2 separate regions of the Homo sapiens genome follow, and region 1 is linked to region 2. The links are contacts of gene promoters, found by promoter capture Hi-C in blood cells and fetal thymus (Javierre and others, 2016). All regions are on one chromosome and are shown on one strand. The core of a region is centred on a gene start or on the middle of the fragment in contact, and the rest is flanking DNA. Distances in the headings are between cores, read along the strand shown.

Region 1 (3,491 bases), core at 697-3,196, 570 kb after region 2:
GTACACCCCCCTGTGATCTTTTTCATAATATTCAGGGGGGTAGATGATATTACTTTCAATATCATAAACACCCTGTACGTACACCCTTGGTGATATTGTTCATAATATCCAGGGTGGGAGAGAATGATATTACTCCCAATATCTCAGGGGGTGTACACCCCCTGTAATATTGTTCATAATATTTGGGGGGGGTGATGACATGTCTCTCAATATCGCAAAAGGTGTACACCCCTTTGTTCTATTGTTTGTAATATCCATGGGGAGAGAGCCCTAAATTTCTGGGCTGAGGCTGGGGAAGGCCAGGCTGTTGGGGCCAGAGGTGGGAGAGGGTTGGGTTAGCCCCTATTCAGGCCCCCTGGGTCTTCTACAGTGATTGTCGTGATTATTTCTTCCTTGACTTTTGAGGTTGGCAAGTATTCATAGCAGATCCTGACCAGGCTTCCAAGAGAGCCAGTGGCAGTATACAGAAACTGTTCAGGTGTATACTTGGGACTGGCTCAGAGTCGCTGCCACCACATTCAATGGCCAAAGGCAGTCCAGATTCAAGGGATGAAGAAACTGACTCCACCTCTTAATGGACTGAGCTGCAAAGTGACATTGGAAAGGGGTAGATACAGGGAGGTGTGGGGCCACTTTTGTGATTGATCTACAAAGAGGCGGTTAGAAGCAATTCTGTGAGGGACACCATTCTATTCCATGAGGCTGGTATTTCTGTAGATGGCAAAGGAGAGATGAGGGGGTGCTAAGGTTCTTGCATTCTTGAGGGATGGTGCGATTAACTGCAAAATTGTCCCCCAAAGTTTGTACCAATTCCCACTCCCACCAACCCCAAAGCAGATAAACTGGGAGAGGGATGAAAAATCTTTACAAAGCCTTCTTGTGTCAACTGATTCACCCCAGGATCTGTTACTGACACTTGCCAACCTCAAAAGTCCAAGGAAAAAGTAATCATGACGATCACTGTAGAAGACCCAGAGGGCCTCACTAGGGGCTAATCCAACTCTCTCCCACCTCTGGCCCCAGCAACCTGGCCTTCCCTAGCCTCAGCCCTGATATTTAGGTCTCTGACCCATGTTGAGATCATTTTTGTGCCTGTCACAAGGAAGGGGATCCAGCTTCATTCTTTTGCATATGAACATCCAGTTGTCCCAGCATCATTTGTCAAAAAGACCATTCTTTCTCCCATTGAATGGTCTTGGCTCTCTTGTTGAAAGGCAATTGACCATAATGTGAGGGTTTCTTTCTGAACTCTCATTTCCACCCCATGATTTATGAGGACAAGCTCAAGCTGGCCTGCTGTAGGATGAGAGACATGAGGAAAAGAAGTGGGTCATCCCAGGTGAGGCCATCCTAGACCAGCAGCCCCGGTCAATCCTCCTGCTGACCACAGACTTGTGAGGGAGCCCATCTGGGAGTCAGCCCAGCCCAGCCCAGCCCAGCCCAGCCCACGGCTGCCCAGCTGACTTGGAGACTTGCGAACATAATAAACGCTTGCTTTAAGACGCTAAGCTTTGGGTTGTCAGGTAACCATTATTTATTCTGCCAGAAAACAGATACAGCTCCAAACTGAAGATAGCCCAGATGTCCCTCCGTGTGGGGCTGGTGGTCCTGCAGTACAATGGAGCACCCTGTGGCCATTTAAAAATTGATCCTTTTGTACCGACCTGGAAGGTGTCCATGATATATTGGTGAGGGAAAAAAGCAAGTGGCTGATCAATATGTATGCCATGACCCAATTTTTGTTTTCTTAAAAAAGTCTGTGTATAAAAAAATATAGAACAGGGACACCTCAGAAAAAGCTGGCAATGATACACAGTGAAGCATTCACAGGGGTTGCCTCTGGGGGAGACAAGAGGGAGTTTGAGGTCTTTTGCTTTCTTTCTGTAATTTTTTAAAAATGAAGATTATTTGGAAGAAAAACAAAGTTAGCATTTTCAAAGACTGTGTGTGTTGAAATGGAGGCCAGCTGCCCACACAGGGATCTCCAGCTTTTTCTCCTCTGCCCTGGCTCCCTGGCTCTGCCTCGACTCCTGGCCCAAGCCCACCCCTCTTGCTGCAAATCCCACAGCCTAGACTCCCCACAGCCCCATAAAACCCCTCGATGGCTTTGCCATCCCTCAAGCCTTTAGGGGTTCACTTTCAATACTAGAGCAGGAAGAGCCTTCGGGATCAAGACTCACCTCTTCATGGCACAGATAGAGGCAAACTGAGGCACGGAGGAGGGAGGGATACACCGGAGGCTTCTGTGAGGCTGCATTGGAGCCAAGGTGAGATGCGGGGTCCTGAGGACCTGCCCCCATCTTGGGTGCCCAAGGCCACCCCCTCCCAGCACAGACCTCTGCTGGGACCCATTTCCCTCAGAGGGGGCCTGGAGGATGAGGGACAAGCTTTGTCCCTCTTGGGAGGAGATGACGAAGGTACTGTGAGGGAGAGTAAAAGGGACAGAGGCAAAGAGGAGGAGGGATAGGGTGGAGTGGGTGCCAGTGCCGGCCTCAGCCCAGAGCCTCTGGCAGCAGCCAGATAATAAGCGGGAATAAAAGAGGAGAGAGAGCGAAATGTCACACACGCTCTGGTGCCATTAGCCACCAGAGAAGGGAAATATCACAGAATTAGGCCAGCCTTTGTTTGCCTTTGTGGAGGAGGAGCATGAGGGGGTCTTCGCTGTGGGTAGGTGGGACTGTGCCTCTGGGGATGGGCCTGTTTTCCCGGGGGAGGGGCAACGAGAGGAGGATTTCACGGCTGGGGCTCTGGGACCCTTGGGCCTCCCAATCCCCAGTTACTGGGCCAGATGCGACTCAGAGAGGGGTGGTGGGAATGGGGACAGGGGAGAGATGGGACTTGTTCCACTTCAAAACAGAGACACCGAACTCAGAGGCCTCCTTGCTAAACTGCCTTTGCTGTTGTTTGTTTATATTTCCCTAGTTATTACCCAAGTCACAGAAACACCCGGGTAATAGCTGTAAAATTACACACTCGCAGCTAATTTGGGTACGACTCTTGGCATAGCAGCCGCGTTTTAAGGAGAAATAAACAAGGCCTGAAATAAAAGTCGGCAGGAATACAAATCTGCAGCAATGAGGCTAGCTCCCCCTTCCCCACGCGGCAGCCAGCGCGCGCGTCACTCCTTCCACACATGCGCGCTCACACGCACCCACACATAAGCCCACCCTAGCCCTTCCCATCCATTCCCTCTGCACCCTGACCCCGCTGCCCGCAGAGCAGCCGAGGGGGCTCGTTCCACTGCCCGCCCCCTCCAACCAGAGCCACGTCCTGGGCTAGGCCAGGGTCCTTGTCTTTGCAGATCCAGGCTGCCCTCCCTGTACCGACTCCCGTCCTCTGTGGGTGCCCACGTTCCACTCTCTTCTAGCCAAGGAGGCTTACCATTCATTCATCCACTCATTCATTCGTTCATTCAAGTGTTTCTTGAGCAACGACTTTGTGCCAGGGACAGTGCTCTAGTGATCGGTAAAATAGACGTTGGTTTCTTCTCA
Region 2 (3,504 bases), core at 55-2,554:
ACAAAGTTCAAGGGGATTTTTACACTATTAATTGTCTTCAGCTGCAAGTAACAAAAAACCTGACTGGGGCGCCTTACAGATTAAAGATTAGCTCAAATCCAAGGTTTCTGGAGGTGAGGGCCTTCTGGGGGCAGTCCCATTGCTCTGCAATCCTCCCCAAAGTGTTTCCTCTTGGGTGGCTATTTCAGAGCCTGGGTGTGCCCCCTCTCTCTAAACCCTGGGCATGCATAATGGGCACTTGGGAGCTCAACTATTTCATCTGCAGCAGCTCTCATCTTATCACCCCGTCAGCTGTAAGGCAGACATCAGTGAGGGTGGTGATTTGCGGACAATCCCTGACTCACCCCATTTTGCCAGCCTGCCCTGGGCTCAGGACTTCCTGCTGCATCTTCTGCTGAGCCGGCAGGGCGTGGCGTCTCAGGGCTGGGGCTGGGGCTCTAGTCCAGGGCTCTTCCTAAGGTGGTACCACACAGTGCCCCCAGCACCTGCCCACCAAACTGGAAATTCCAGAAATATTCTCGACACCGTCTACTTTCCAAAGACTGGGTGTGGCAGATGAGGAAGCTGAGGCTCAGCGAGTTGGGGGGTCTATTAAGGTCCCTCAGCCCCTGAAAGGTGGGGTCAAAATTAAACAAAAACTGGGCCTCAGACTGGGTTTCCAAACACCCCACTCTGTGCCTTGATAATCCTGTTTCTCTCTCCATCCATTCCCATTCACTGAGCCGGAAGCCTCCATCTTCAGAAGGGGGTTCTCTGCCCCAAACAGCGTCTAATCTGGAGACTTGCGGTGGTGGCGGTGGTGGTGGTGGGGGCAGTGCCGGGGCCTCAGGCTGTTCTCCCTCATCTTGCTGCCTGCTCACCTTGCCTCTGTGTGCTCACAGCCCCCCAGAGCACAGCTGTGTCTGCTCCCAGACTATGGGCTCCTTGAGGGCAGGACCTGGTTTGGGTCCCAGAGCAGCCAGGGTTTGATGAATGACAGATGCCCTAGACCTGGGTAAGCCCCTCCAGAATGACTTGCTAGTGCGGGGTGGGGAGTCTGGCATCTCTGGGCCCAGCCTGGAAGGGTGCTGGACTGGCTGGCGGGTGACACACCTGGGGTTCCTGGGCCCCTCCTGGCCACACTGTCAGTGGGCCTCAAGCTCCCTTAGCATATGGCCTCTGGAATAAAGTGAGCCCGCACCTCGGGAGGGGGCAAGCAGAGGCAGGAGCAGGATGGCAGGTGGCAGGCGGGGCTGCACAGGGGAGCACAGCAACTCCACTTCCTGTGGGCGAGGGCCCTGTGCCTGCCCCGGGGGAGGTTGCACAAACCTTCCTGCGCAGGCCTCGGGCTGCCTGCCTGCCTGCCTGCCTGGCCCGGCCCGAGCTCCAGCCTGCCTCTTCCACTGGCCACTGCCTCCCACCCAGGGCTGGCATCCCTGCTCCCTGCCCTGGGTCCCAGACTGTGTCCTCCATCACCGCAGGGTCGGTGAGGGGCTGGGCTGGACACCAGGGCCCGCCCTCCCATCACTGAGCTCCACTCCTTCCTCATTTTGCTGCTGATTCTAGCCCCAAACAAAACAGGTTGAGCTTTTTCCTCCCCTCAGAAGCTCCTCTCTGGCTCGTGGCTGCCTTCTGAGTGTTGCAGACGGCGCCGGCCGGGAAGGGGGGCCTGGGCCAGCCCTGCCAGGACTGGGACGCTGCTGCTGGCGCCTGGCCCTCCATCAGGCCAGCCTGTGGCAGGAGAGTGAGCTTTGCCGCGGCAGACGCCTGAGGATGATGCCCCAGCTGCAGTTCAAAGATGCCTTTTGGGTGAGTGAGGATGGTTGGGGGCACTGAACAAGTGGAGGGGGCAGAGCTAGGCTGAAATCTCCATGCAGGTGATGGGATGCGGCTCCGAGAGGGGAGCTTTCTCATAAAATAGTGGTTGATTCTTGGTCTTAATTGTCATGGAGGTGGCCCAGGCCCCCACCCCTTCTGGACTGGAACGCAAGTGGACTCCGTGAATGAGCGTCCTCCTCTCTGCTGCCCCGTGTGTTTTCTCCTCTGGGAGACCTCTCCCCACAGCAGGAGCTCCTCAGAAGAGGGTAACACATGGGTGGGGGCTTGAGGAGGATGTGTGGGGCAGCAAAGGAGGGGTCACAGATTTAGAGACCAGACAAACTTGAGTTCAGGTCTTGGCTCTGTTACAGGCTGGGCAAGTCATTTCTGTCTCCAAGCCTCAGTCTCTCCATCTATATAATGGTGATAAAATAGAAATCAACACACCAACTAAAGCATTGGATCAGCAAGGGGATCCAAGGCACTAAAGCCCCCAGCACCTTGCCTCACTCCAAATGGTAATTCTGTTCCCCTCACCCAGCCCCTTGTCCCTTGCAGACCTTAGGGGTCCTTCAAGGAGGCAGCCAGGTGGGCAATGGCTTGCTTACTTTCTTAAATTCAACACGGGCTTAAATCAAGTCATTTCCCCCATGAAATAAGGGCGCCCAGCCAGTGGTAGAGGTAAAGTGGCTTGGCCCGGGCCACGTAGCCTGCAGCCCAGCTTGGACCCCTGGTCATCTCAGCACTTTTCCAGCTGTCCTTCAACTACCCCTCTGCCCCTCAGCTCTGGCTGTGCCCAGGGCTCTGGGGAAAAACTGAGACCTCTCTGGTTGGAGCTGGGGAATGTGGCTGTCCCGGGGTGCTGCCTCCAACCCCGAAGAGGACGCTCTGGCCCTCGGCTCAGCCGGCTGAGCCCCAGCCAACAGCCCTGCCCTCCCCGGGCCTTTTCCTGGGGCTGCAGCCAGGAGGATGAGAGCTATGGAGCCAGGCCTTCCTTCCCTTCCGGCCGGCTCCACTTGGGGCCTGTGGCCAGCGTGTGAGTGTTCTGCTTCCTCTGCTCTGACTGTACAGTAGGCAAAGGACCCCACGTGGGGAGGGCACCTTGTGCCTTTCTGGGCCTCAGTTTCCCCATCTCTACAAAGACAGGGTGGGCCCAGCCCAGAGAAGCCAATGGAGGCAGAGCTGCCTCAGCCCATCCGGAGGACCAGGCACCAGGATGCTCAGGGCCCAGGCTGGCAGCTGGAGCCCTGGGGGATGGGGGATGTGAGTCACCACCTAGCTGCCCTGCCTTGGTGTGCAAAGTTGGGGGAAGGGGTAGGGCCTGGAAACCCAGGCCACTCTGTAGCCCAGGGCAGGCCAGGACCCCTTGACTATTTTATCACTGAGACCTCTGTCCAGTCCTAGAGCCCCTGGGCCTGCCTTCCCTAGGGCAGAGCTGGGCAAGGAGCAGCCTCCATGGCAGGATCTGGGCACAGGTAGGGGTGGCGTATAAGGGAGCAGGGTATGGCAGCCGCAGCAGAAGCAAGCAGCCAGCCCCTGTGGAGCTTCCTGAGCGGCATCCTGCCCACACTCTGTGCTCGTCGCACCTCTGGGCTTCCTGGCCTCCAAGTGCCTTGTCTCCTCTGTGTCTGGCTCCCTGAGCCTGGGGCGGGCATATAGTTTCCCTAGGGAAGGCCAGAGCAGGAAGGGGAGAGAAGTAGCCAGTGG

The links. Contacts are between HindIII fragments. The CHiCAGO score rates a contact against its expected background, and 5 or more counts as called.
Region 1: a fragment that was not itself captured here is called in contact with the fragment with the promoter of PSTPIP1 in region 2 in 1 of 17 cell types (erythroblasts); the score reaches 7.1 in erythroblasts.

The regions. Positions count from the first base shown.
Region 1 is chr15:77,562,555-77,566,045 of GRCh38, forward strand. No RefSeq gene overlaps it. Among named protein-coding and RNA genes, the nearest start is that of LINGO1, 69 kb to the right of the region's middle. RefSeq lists an enhancer at 2,825-3,491. The HindIII fragment of the contact is 878 bases long and covers 1,508-2,385 here.
Region 2 is chr15:76,993,822-76,997,325 of GRCh38, forward strand. It overlaps PSTPIP1 (proline-serine-threonine phosphatase interacting protein 1), which reads left to right and starts at 1,305. Exons shown (of 15, transcript NM_003978.5): 1 at 1,305-1,788. The coding sequence starts at 1,753. RefSeq lists an enhancer at 1,010-1,059 and a silencer at 1,300-1,489. The HindIII fragment of the contact is 6,151 bases long and covers 1-3,504 here.